Regions from separate parts of the Homo sapiens genome. Here all the other regions are linked to region 1. The links are contacts of gene promoters, found by promoter capture Hi-C in blood cells and fetal thymus (Javierre and others, 2016). All regions are on one chromosome and are shown on one strand. Each heading gives the region's core, a stretch centred on a gene start or on the middle of the fragment in contact. The rest is flanking DNA. Distances are from core to core; before and after follow the strand shown. Region 1 holds the start of GGA2 (golgi associated, gamma adaptin ear containing, ARF binding protein 2). Region 2 holds the start of LOC124903663 (a long non-coding RNA gene). Region 3 overlaps RBBP6 (RB binding protein 6, ubiquitin ligase).

Region 1 (4,091 bases), core at 671-3,170:
AATCACAGAGTGGCCAGCCCAGAGGTTCACTCTTTATCTAAGAGGAACATCTGAACCCTTGGCCCCATCCTGTGGAACGCAGGCCATACGGGGGATCAAGGCCCTTTGGGGTTAAATTGAGGTTGCCAGATGGAGGTTGCTAGGGGAAGGGTGCTAGTTGAAAATACTATATAAACTGATGCTCTTTACAAATGGTAGTGGTCCTCCTGTCCAGCCCACTGCCACTAGACCACCCCGTAAGTCCCCTCAGTAAACCTGCCTCATTCAGTGGCTCTGGGTCTCTTCTTCCGCCTTTCAAACATGGTGCCATCCCTACTGAAGTTAATAGGGGTACGGCACAACAGCTTCAATGGAAAATTATGTGTTGTCTAGACAGCACAACCTTCCAGGTTCTAGCCTTTCTTTGTCTTTGAGAAGTCTCATAACTCTGTTAAGTTGATACCAATGCAAAATAATTCTTGCCTATAAATAGGTAAATTCCGCTCACTGGAGGGACAGCTCTCACCCCGGTCGAAAAGCCAGTTTTGCCTCCATTTGCACATTCGTCTTATCTTCCTTTTTTTCCAGATAAATTTGCCCTTCTTTGACTTCACTTTTGGATTGATTATAACATCTGCTTGGTTCCCTCATGTAATTAAATAAAATATTTAACACGTATTCATTTCATAATTATGATAATCATGACATACTTTTTTGGGAAAATTATCTTTTAACAGAATAAGCAAGTAAATAATACATCGATGGTGTACTGTGTGATGCAGAAAATAAAGCAGAGTATTGAGGAATGCAGGACATGTTAGTTTAGAAGTGTTCCAGGAAACCAGGGAGGTGGAGGTTGCAATGAGCCGAGATAGCACCACTGCACTCCAGCCTGGGCGACAGAGCGAGACTCCATCTGAAAAAAAAAAAAAGTGTTCCAGGAAAACCCTTCTGTGAATAAAAATGCAAGCACATAGGCCGGGCGTGGTGGCTCACCCCTGTAATCCCAGCACTTTGGGAGGGCGAAGCGGGCAGATCACGAGGTCAGGAGTTCGAGACCAGCCTGGCCAACATAGTGAACCCTCGTTTCTACTAAAAATACAAAAAAAAAAAAAATAGCTGGGTGTGGTGGCATGCACCTGTAGTCCCAGCTACTCGGGACGCTGAGGCAGGAGAATCGCTTGAACCCAGGAAGTGGAGGTTGCAGTGAGCCGAGATGGCACCCCTGCACTCCAGCCTAGGCGACAGAGTGAGACTCCGTCTCAAAAAAAGAAAAAAAGAAAAATAAAAAATAAATGCAAGCACTTTGGGAAGTCGAGGTAAGAGGATCTTGTAGCCCAGGAGTTCGAGACCACCCGGGCAACATGGTGAAACCCAGTCTCTAACACACACACACACACACACACACACACACACACGGTGAAACCCAGTCTCTAACACCAGGAGTTCGAGACCACCCGGGCAACATGGTGAAACCCAGTCTCTAACACACACACACACACACACACACACACACACACACACACACGGTGAAACCCAGTCTCTAACACACACACACACACACGCCAGGCGTGGTGGTGCCCTCCCCTAGTCCCAGCTCCTCCGGAGACTGAAGCGGGAGGATCGCTTGAGCCTAGGAGGTGGAGGCTGCAGTGAGCCGTGATCGCGCCATTGGACTCCAGCCTGAGTGACAGAGCAAGACCCCGTCTCTTAAAAAATAAAAATGCTAAAAGAATTATTCGTGTTCTTCTGAAAATCAAATTTAACTGGGCGTCTTGTATTTTATCTGGCAACCGTACGGTGAGTGGTCTTAGAAGACCAGCGCTGGGTGGAGGGATCTGGACTAAGAAATGTTCCGGCCGGTCCCGCGTGGAGGGGGGGCCTGGGGTGGGCGTGGCGCCAGCGGCCCCGCCCCGTCACGTGTCCACCGCTCCTGCCGCGCAGTCAGCAGAGGAGAGCGCCAGGACGCTACAGCGGCTGAAGAGGCAGTGGCGCCCGCGGCCGCAGCGTCGGGGCTGGAGCGATGGCGGCGACCGCGGTGGCGGCGGCTGTGGCGGGAACCGAGTCGGCCCAGGGTCCCCCGGGCCCGGCAGCGTCGCTGGAGCTGTGGCTCAGTGAGTAGCCTGGCAGGCCTTCGGCGCAGCCGCTGCGCCGCACGTGAGGCCTCGCTTCCCGCCTCCCGGGGCCTTGCTTCGGGGCGGGCGGCCGCAGGGGAGGCCGGCGGCCGGGTAGGGGGCCTGGGCCCGGCGCGGTGGGGAAGATCGCCCAGGGGTCCCCCGAGAGGAGCCCCAAGCATCCGCCGGGGCAGCGGCCCCCTTCTGAGCTCTGCCCCTCCCCCTCCGCCCACCCCCCAACTTAGCAGCAGCACAGGACCCCGACCCCCACCCCAATGGCTACGTGACCTGCGCTTTCCCCTGCGCCAGGCACTGTGCTCACAGCGGCTTAGTCCTGCTTAATCCTCATTCCCACCCCGAGCTGGCTTCTATTATTAACCCCACTACGGAAGCGGGGACCTTGAGGCTTAAGGAGACGCAGTCGTGCAAGACATGCAGTCTGTTTGGGGCTGAGAAAGATCTCTATCTGGCTACCGCGTCAAAAAGAAATTTTTTACCTTTTGTGTTTACTTTGGCCAGACTTTTTTTTTTAAACACACACACACGTGTGTGTGTGTGTGCGTATATATATATATGTGTGTTTTTTTTTTCCTTTAAGAGACGGGGTCTCATTATGTTACCCTGGTTGGGCTCAAACCCTTTGGCCAGAATTCTTCTGCATGTCTCCTGTAAGCTTCACAGTCATCTTAGGGGTTATTATTATCTCCGTTTTACCAATGAGGGATTGAGGTTCAAAGGGGATAAAGAATATTCCCCTTGTACCCAGCTCTGCTAGGTGCCAGGAACACTGAGATGCATAACACAGGGTCCTTGCTCACCAAAACATTTTTTAGTGGGTACAAGCCGGCAGTCACATCACCTTACTAACGGGATTGGCGAGGAGGAGGAGGGCGTTCGTTTCACCTGTGGTGGTAGGAGTTGGTTTACCTGGGGGTCGTCACAGCCGACCGCATTCCAGGCAGAAGAAACTGCGTGTGCAAAAGCTGGGGACAAGAGAATGTGGAGCACTCCGGGAACAAGTAGGTCAGTCCGCTGGAGTGCAAGCCTAAAGCTCAGGAATCCGGGAAAGGGGCTGCACGGCTAATTGGGGCGAGATCTTCAAGAGCCTTGTGTGCTGCAGAAAGGAGTTTATGTTTTATCCGAGGGCGGGGTTGCTGTTTGGGAGTTTTCAGCCGGAGAATCTGATCAAGGAAGCCTGTTAAAGGCGTCACTTGCAGCCATATGGTGCTAAATTGGGCGGAGAGGGTGAGACTTCAGGCAGGGAGAGCGGCTAAAAAGCTCTTTTGGTGGTGGTTGGGGGCCGCAGGAGGACTAAGGCAGTGGGGAGAGGGAGAAGCAATGAGCAGGCGTAGTCAGCAGCCTCGGTGCCTTGGAATGCAGACAGGGGACAAGGAGAAATCTAGGCTAGATCGCGGGTTTCAGGCTCGAGGAACTGGTGGGTTACAGATGCCTCCCCTGTGAGGAGGAGCTGGTTTAGGCAGAGAAGGTTGAGATGTGGAGTTTGAGGTGCTTGTGGCATAGTCAAAAAAGAGATGCCCTCTAGGCAGCTGGTTGGCACTGGAGAGGGCAAGTGTGGGACGTACGGTTTGGGAGTCTGGTTCATTGGCAGTGAGCTTGCGGGAGAAGCTTGCGTATATTAAGAGCAGAGGTTTGGAAAGAGAGCGTGGGGAGCCCCAGCATTGAAGAGGCAGATGGGAAGAGAAGACTGAAGGCTGAGCAGAAACAGGCAGGGGGAGACCTGCAGGGGCACCCACTGATAGCAAAGGAGGGATGTGGTTGTAACGTAGTTTTGCTCCTTAAAGATGGAGGAGAATGAGGAAGGAGAAGAGAGAACTTTGAATTTGGTAACCAACCAGTTATTTAATGAGACATCCTTGAGTTAAACAGTAGAGACAGAAGGTAGTAGTTTTAGGAGGCAATGGAGAACAGAAGGCTTAGACTGGAGTTGCAAAAATTAGAAAAAAAGGCTGTTCATGCCTGTAATCGCAGCACTTTGGG
Region 2 (4,091 bases), core at 595-3,094, 1.9 Mb after region 1:
ACATCATGTGACCCAGCAGGTCAAGGTCAGAAAACAGGAGGAGTTGGGGCAAGTGAGGACCACTGGTGTTTATTTTTAGTCTTATTTATATTGGGATTAAGGTAAGAAAAATAACAGAATGGCTGGGTTTCCTACCTCAAAAATATAATAAAAGCACAAAGTGAGGTGGCAGGCCCATTAACCCACTCATCTGCTTCCTCCCACAGGTGCTGTGGGCGCCTGTACTCTCTCTGTCACACAACCGTGGTACCTAGAAGTGGACTACACTCATGAGGCCGTCACCATAAAGTGTACCTTCTCCGCAACCGGATGCCCTTCTGAGCAACCAACATGCCTGTGGTTTCGCTACGGTGCTCACCAGCCTGAGAACCTGTGCTTGGACGGGTGCAAAAGTGAGGCAGACAAGTTCACAGTGAGGGAGGCCCTCAAAGAAAACCAAGTTTCCCTCACTGTAAACAGAGTGACTTCAAATGACAGTGCAATTTACATCTGTGGAATAGCATTCCCCAGTGTGCCGGAAGCGAGAGCTAAACAGACAGGAGGAGGGACCACACTGGTGGTAAGAGGTCAGTCAGCGAGGCTTTATTTCAGTGCATCATTGCATCTTGTTCAGGCCTGTAAAATCATTACCTCACTCACATGTAGAAATCAGGAGATAAATTTGCTAAGTTAATACCCTAGCCAGTGATGGGTGTGATCTGAACACAAGTCACCATGAGGTTTGGACTAAAGAACTACTCCAACTGGCTGGGCGTGGTGGCTCACACCTGTAATCCCAGCACTTTGAGGCTGAGGTGGACGAATCACTTGAGGTCAGGAGTTCAAGACTAGCCTGGCCAACATGGTGAAACCCCATCTCTACTCAAAATACAAAAATTAGCCGCGCATGGTGGCATGCACCTGTAGTCCCAGCTGCTTGGGAGGTTGAGGCAGGAGAATCGCTTGTAACCCAGGAGGCGAAGGTTGCAGTGAACCGAGATCGCACTACTGCACTCCAGTCTGGGCAACAAAGCAAGACTCCATCTCAGAAAAACAAAAGAACTACTCCAATCCATCTCGAACATCCACTAACACAAAGTCAGTGATTTGCTGGGTGCTCTATTCTCCCTACATGGTGATGTTTAACCAACCATGTTCACCTCTTTTGTATATTACAGTGATTTAGTGTAAAGTACCATGTCCAAAGGGAACCTTGTGGTGAGTAACTATCAGCTTTCTCAGGAACTAGTCTGGTAATGCACCACCTAGAACAAAGCACTAGAGAAGTGTAAAAGATCAATAAATTGGACCCACAGAAACTATGCAACATGGAGAATAAGCACAGATTTGGAGAGAAGCTACTCAGGGATCCCTGACCCTTCCCATTCTGCCTGGACATCAGTGAACGGAAAGTGATGACTCTCACTTCCTGAGATTTGATAAAACCCATGACAATTCCTCAGCCGAGCGAGGACATCAAACATAGCTAAATCCTATCAGTAATTTCACCAAGTCATTCCCTTGAGTAAACTGAGATTAAGACATTCCCGAGAAAAAAAAAGGGGGAATTTCAGAGAAAAAGCTTTACATGATTCTGAAGGAAAAAAGAGAACAGCAGCAACTCCTCGCCTTGTTGGGGTCTCTTCCCTTAGGAAGGACCCTGGTATGATGAGCAGAGATTGTTAAAACATGAACTCAAAATCAACCAGCCCTTCGATTTCAAAATAGGACTCTGAGGAAGGGAGACCATCCAGTATTATAACCTGTGCTTTTAAACTACGAGGGTTCTAATGGGCTTTTGATATTCAAATGTCATTTAACCTTAGTTTATTCTCATCTGTCAGCTAAATTATAAATAAGTTAAGGCACTTAAAGCATTTTTAATAGTGCCTGGCATATAGCAAATAACAAATGTTAGCTACTGATATGAAAACACACACAGCTTTAGAGATTTGTATGTCTCACTGCATTAGCCTTCTAAAAACATGTTAGTCAAAGGGAAAAATGGCTTGTAAAAAGATGAAGGTCTCAAAGCTGCAAGGCTTATATAAAGTGAAGTGAAAGTGAAAGGCAGAATTGAAAGTGTTAAGGCAGACATGGCAACTTCCTGTCTCTTCTACAGAACTCCTATTTTCACACTGAAGCTTTTTTATTTTAGTTGTATAGATGTGGTTAATTTGTTAGTTTCACAAATAAAAATGTATGCTGCATAAACTGCATTCACAGGATAAGCATCTATGGGATTTTTCTTTCTTTTTTTTTAAGACAAGAGTCTTGCTCTGTCGCCCGGGCTGGAGTGCCGTGGCGTGATCTCAGCTCACTGCAACCAACCTCCACCTTCCGGGTTCAAGCGATTCTCCTGCCTCAACCTCCTGAGTAGCTGGGATTACAGGCATGTGCGACCACGCCCAGCTAATTTTGGTATTTTTAGTAGAGATGGGGTTTCGCCATGTTGGCCAGGCTGGTGTCAAACTCCTGATCTCAAGTGATCTGCCCACCTCGGCCTCTCAAAGTGCTGGGATTACAGGCATGAGCCATCACACTCAGTCTCATCTATGGGATATTTAGTTGGAAAGTACAGGCTATTCAGACAGTAAGTACAAATCTAATTGTATTTTGTACTCCAAATAGTCAGGTAATTGAAGACATGGCATGTTACTTAATCCCTACCCAGAGCACAAGACAATTTCTGCAAGGAGAGAGAAATTCCGAATGTGAAAATGGATTCAATAACTCTATTTCCAGAATTTTATCATAAAGAAAGAAGAGCACATTTGGCAAAAGTGCCTGTCTTTCAAGCACGCAGTGAGCACTGCGCTCCTCAATGTATGGCCTTCCCAGGTTCTTTCACAGATGGGACTCTTCAGCTATGTGTACTAGTTCCAAGGCTATAAATATCACCCTTAACAAATACATATGAAAATATCTTAACCACATAGGCAGACTCTTGATGATACTGGTAAACCGTTTCTACCAAAAGAGATTTTAGATGCCCTTGAACAAACTGTCTGGAAATGTTTATCTAACTTCAAATAATCCTTTATCTAAAAAGTGATGCTTAGCAATATGACAAATGGTTGGTTGAATTTTTTTAATGTTTAAAAACGAGTAACATTTTTGGTTTAACACATTTAAAGAACTGATGAACTGGCTTTAACTATTACATACTTGAGTACCTTTTGAGGTCTAGTTTTTATACGAATAGGCAAGCAGAGTAAGTTCACGTTTCACCTCTAAAACGCAGTGTGAAGGATACTTTACACATGTATTTGAAAGAATAGGCTTTAATAGTCAATGTGCTTCTTTCTGTTTTTGTCATTAAGAAATTAAGCTGCTCAGCAAGGAACTGCGGAGCTTCCTGACAGCTCTTGTATCACTGCTCTCTGTCTATGTGACCGGTGTGTGCGTGGCCTTCATACTCCTCTCCAAAGTAAGTCAAATCCTCTTGCATGGAATGTCCCTATATCCTTGAATATTATCAAAAGAAAAATAATTTCTATCTCTCCACAAGTTATGGGCCTCAGCAAGAGCTCCCTAATTAACATTTTCCTGTGCATCTGCAGGGAACACCACCTGCAGAAGAGGTCTTTGGAAGAAGGCATCATACATTCTCATCACTGAAATTATTAGCCAGGGGACATAGTTTGCTGTTTTCTCTTTAAAGCCCAGTAGCATGGGATTAAGAAGAGAGCCATCCACTATGCTATCTTTCTGCTGTAGGGGTGAGGTGTGGGCAGGTGGAGGGCGAGATATTACTGTTATCTACGAAAGCCTTAAGAACAGTCTTTAAGAACAAAAATGGGTTGATGAAGAAACTAAAAGCCGCCTTAAAATCTTCAAAAAGGGCTAAAGTTATTAAAAAAGAATACCTTTTGGCTATGTGTATAAGAAGGGAGATGTATACCATTGTGTTAGGATTACTATAAATCCTACAATCAACGTCAGTTTGTTCAATTAGTTTTTAATGGAGTAAAAGCATCTCAAAAATGATGTAAAAATTAAGTCTCATTGTATATCACTTAAATATTAAGTTAGTTTAATCTTATTAGGGCATGAGATATCTGCCACCATTGTTATGAGTACATAAAATGTTTCATAGACTTTCCTTCTCT
Region 3 (4,091 bases), core at 839-3,338, 1.0 Mb before region 1:
AGCCCCAAATTCCGAGGAAGCTTTGAGTCAGAAAAACTGAGAGCATGGGGTGACTAGATTTTTTTAAAAGTTAATTCTAGAAATAAAACTTTGTGTCAAACACCTGACAGGAAGTTTCTGAATATGTAACAACTCAATGCACTCACAAGAGCTTTCCAAGACAGCTTATTAATTTGATTAGCACCGTACTGTGTCAAACTAAAAGGTGCCTCAATGCCCTTCAAAACAGATGTTCTAACTGACTTTTTAAATACCTGAATTACAATGATTTCTTACCCCTCAAAGTATCTTTCTAGGGGTAATAAAGACACTTTGGGGGTATTTCATTTAAAATACCTCCTTAACAAGTAGTCTGTTGGCTTCAAAAGACCCTTTCTGCTTGCCAGTTTTTTTGACCCCAGACATGAAAGGCATGGATGAAATGAAAAACAGAATGAATCCGAGAAATGGAGAGTAAGAAAGGTGACAAGGGTCATTTATAAACACTTCATATTCAGCTTCCAAACCTCTCACACTTTAATTTCAGAACGAAGGATGTTTTGTTTTTTAGGGGTCGGTGTGCAGAAAAGTTTCTCATATATAACAAAGATTACTTGATATTCATTTTGAAATACAGTCTAGAAACAAGCAGGATTCTTGTCTAAAATCCATGGAATTCTGACCCAAGCGTTTCAGTCTTATCAAGATTTAAGGGTCCTATGCCAGGCACAGTGGCTCAAGCCTATAATCCCAGCACTTTGGGATGGCCTTGGGAGGCCAAGGCAGGAGAACACTTGGGCTCAGGAGACCAGCCTGGGCAACATGGCAAAATCCCCATCTCTACCAAAATAAAATAAAAAAAAATTACAATAAATTAGCCAGGCATGGTGGTGTGTGGCTGTAGTCCAGCTACTTGGGAGGCTGAGGTGGGAGGATCACCTGGGCCTGGTAGGTTGAAGCTGCAATGAGCCAAAATTGTGCCATTATACTCTAGCCTGTGAGGATGTGTCTCCAAAAAAAAAAAAAAAAAAGATTTAAGGGACCTAAACATGCACATAATTCCAAAACTGTAAGGAAATGTTTTACAGAAACATGGTAGATTAGGGATTTTAAAATTATAAGAATGAAATTAAGAAACTGGACCTTAACTGTGATAAAAAGATTACCATAGTTTTCTTTAGTAAATATGTTGAATATCGGTGCTAAAACCAAATGGCATTCTACTCAACTGCCTTGTGACATTGGATACTATTTCCCATAAAACTAGTTAAGTAGCTACCATCAATATCTCTTTCTCTCTTAATTTGAGGACTGCATAAAATACACATTTTCTCCCTCAAAGCTCCCTTTTCTTAACAAACCGAACATCAAAGCTTTCTCCAATAAAGGGCAGTTCACATAAATATAAAAAAGAAAATGTGCTGGGCAAAAACACATTCCTGGCTTTCTGGGTTTGAATTACGTATCATTTATTTCCTGGGCTAGGAAAAAAAAATTGGTTACACAAAGTCACAAAACTCTTAAATTTCCGGACAGGATTCTTTTAACTATAACTTACCCAGTCTAAAGTTGCATTCACATGCCTGTAATCCCAGCCCTTTGGGAGACCCAGGTGGGTGGATCACTTGAGGCCAAGAGTTCGAGACCAGCCTGGCCAGCAAGACAAAACCCCATCTCTACTAAAAATACAAAAAAAAATTAGCTGGGTGTAGTGGCGCATGCCTGTAGTCCCAGCTACTTGGGAGGCTGAGGCATGAGAATCGCTCAAACCAGGGAGGCGGAGGTTGCAGTGAGCTAAGATGGTGCCACTGCACTCCAGCCTGGGTGACAGAGTGAGACTCTGTTTCAGGGGAAAAAAAAAAAAAAAGCTGCATTCAATTGTTGGGTCGAAAAGATGGATAACGCCTAGCCCTAATGATTCGATTGTGTAATACTCCAGTAAAATATGAAACCTGAATATATGACGATTAAAATTGCCTTAATATCCTTTAATTCCATTCATATTGTCTCTCCTCTCATTCATAAATACTCAATATGTCAAGATGGCCCAAACTTCTTATAAACCCATCTGTTCTGTGAAATGTGACTGTTGTAGTTAAGGGATGCTTGTGAGGCACTTAAATAAAGCTATTTCTCAACTGTTCATGACCACCACCAGTTTTTCCTCTCCTTAGGCAGAGGATTACACATAGCTCCAATTATCAAAGGGTATGACACTTGTTTTTAAAAGGTGGGGAAGCAGACAGTATTTTCACATAATATCATTTGAGCAAATAAATTCTTCCTTAATATTTTTGAGTCATGATATGCCAGCACTGCTGTTCCTTAACCTAATACAATTATACTTAGGTCTGCATTGTAAATGGAAAACTGGTCTTCTACATGACAAGATTTACTCTACCTAAACTACAGGCTGGAGGTGGGGGACCTCCCATTTCAACTAAAAGAATCCATGTCACACCTTAAGTGTGATAAAAATTTAGTGACTAAAAAAATACCCTAACCTAATTGTAACTTCACTTCTTCTCATTCCATCAGTAACTTTTAGAACACCGAACTGCTAAAAAATACACATCAGCATTACTGATCTGAGAAAAAGAAACCAAAACAAGTTCAGAGTCAGGAAAGACTGCTTGTCACATTTATCTACTGTTAAGTTCCCAATATTATCAAAATACTTTTGAAAAGGAGAAAGAATCTAACGATTCTTATCAGTGGCTTATTTGTACTCTATGGTAGCAGCCTATTTTTCAGTACCTTAGTATCAACAGTCACGTAAAATCTAGCAACTACTACTTTAAAAAAAATCAGTACTTTTGATCTTCACCGAATTGATAAAGCTTAAGAGTAATGTGATGAACTAACAGTTTAACTACTTAATTGCCGTATTACTAATTCTGGAATTGACACACAAGACAAGAGCGGTGACATCAGAACATTTCAAGATCCAAAAACAATTCCAATACTGATTAAATCCTCAAAAATATTAAAGTTCAGATCCCTTATCCACAACACAGGCAAGCAACTCCAAATAAATAAATGCGAGGAGGGAGGAAGGCAGGACATAAAATTTGCCATCAAACTCCACAATGTTGTTAGGTTAGAAAATTGTTTTTTTGGTTTTTTTTTTGTTTTTTTTTTTGCTGATTGAACAAACAAGCTTTGCACAGGCTCTCCTGCCCTCCTGATGGAAAATAAGTTAGAAAACGCCCTAAGACAAGCACTCAAAGAGTCTAGATAGCTATCCCCCTCTCCTCCCTCCCTCATTTTAAAAAACAGCGAGAAGAATAATCAGGCTTCCACGTTTTGGGTTAGCCTGTTACAGATGACCCAAGTATGCAGAAATAAAATAAACCAGTGAAACTCCAAGGCCAACTGCTGCAAACCTTGGCTATCAATGAAAGTTGTATCCAAAGTACTAGAACGAACAGTCCCCACTAGAGACATAATGGCGGTTAGCTTCCTGCCAGGCACCTTCTAGCTAGTATCTCTCTCCAGCCACCAAATATCTTAAGACCAAGCGGCCCTTACCTTCTTTCGTCTGCGCATTGGTGATCTGCAGGTCGCAGTCGGCAGCTTTCAGCTTCTCTCTCCCCATAATCTGCTTCTTTAAGTCGCAGAGGGAGATGTGGAGCCCATCAAAGGTGACGGTATCATAGTTGAGTTTAGAGGAAAATTTATAATGCACACAGGACATGGTGCCAAGGGATTCCTAAGGTTCAGCGAGGAGACGTGGACACTCTCAATATACGTATATTTATAAACTTTAAGAGCAAAATATGTACACACAAAACACTCAAAGACACCGAAGGACCCTAAGGCCTCAGATTAAATACCCCCCAACCACAAGCAGGGGTTCGTCAGAACAATAATCCAGAGACCCCCCGATACTCAGAATCACTTCATGGGGGAGGAGGAGGACGAGGACGGGGAAGAGGGGAAATCGAGAATCCGCCAACGGGCACAATGTCACCCGGCTGGGTCCCCCTCGCTCATGCTAAGGGGCCGGCAGAGACGGGGGGATTGGCGGTGCAGTCAGTAGCGGTCAGTCCACACGTTAAGAGTCCGAGCGACCCCACGGGGTCAGGGGTCCATAGCGCGGCCGCACCTCC

What was found. Contacts are between HindIII fragments. The CHiCAGO score rates a contact against its expected background, and 5 or more counts as called.
Region 2: a fragment that was not itself captured here is called in contact with the fragment with the promoter of GGA2 in region 1 in 1 of 17 cell types (total B cells); the score reaches 5.9 in total B cells.
Region 3: a fragment that was not itself captured here is called in contact with the fragment with the promoter of GGA2 in region 1 in 2 of 17 cell types (total B cells and M0 macrophages); the score reaches 6.1 in total B cells.

The regions. Positions count from the first base shown.
Region 1 is chr16:23,508,323-23,512,413 of GRCh38, reverse strand. It overlaps GGA2 (golgi associated, gamma adaptin ear containing, ARF binding protein 2), which reads left to right and starts at 1,920. Exons shown (of 17, transcript NM_015044.4): 1 at 1,920-2,093. The coding sequence starts at 2,003. RefSeq lists silencers at 1,644-1,693, 1,764-1,993, 2,064-2,233. The HindIII fragment of the contact is 8,010 bases long and covers 1-2,768 here.
Region 2 is chr16:21,643,608-21,647,698 of GRCh38, reverse strand. The region is part of intron 4 of METTL9 (methyltransferase 9, His-X-His N1(pi)-histidine); the gene reads right to left. IGSF6 (immunoglobulin superfamily member 6) reads left to right here. Exons shown (of 6, transcript NM_005849.4): 2 at 207-566; 3 at 3,303-3,409. It overlaps LOC124903663 (a long non-coding RNA gene), which reads right to left and starts at 3,303. Exons shown (of 2, transcript XR_007065025.1): 1 at 2,523-3,303; 2 at 232-767. RefSeq lists an enhancer at 1,974-2,153. The HindIII fragment of the contact is 562 bases long and covers 1,564-2,125 here.
Region 3 is chr16:24,540,212-24,544,302 of GRCh38, reverse strand. RBBP6 (RB binding protein 6, ubiquitin ligase) reads right to left here. Exons shown (of 18, transcript NM_006910.5): 1 at 3,511-4,091. The coding sequence starts at 3,676. Among named protein-coding and RNA genes, the nearest start is that of RBBP6, 2.7 kb to the right of the region's middle. RefSeq lists enhancers at 3,087-4,079, 4,080-4,091. The HindIII fragment of the contact is 1,467 bases long and covers 1,355-2,821 here.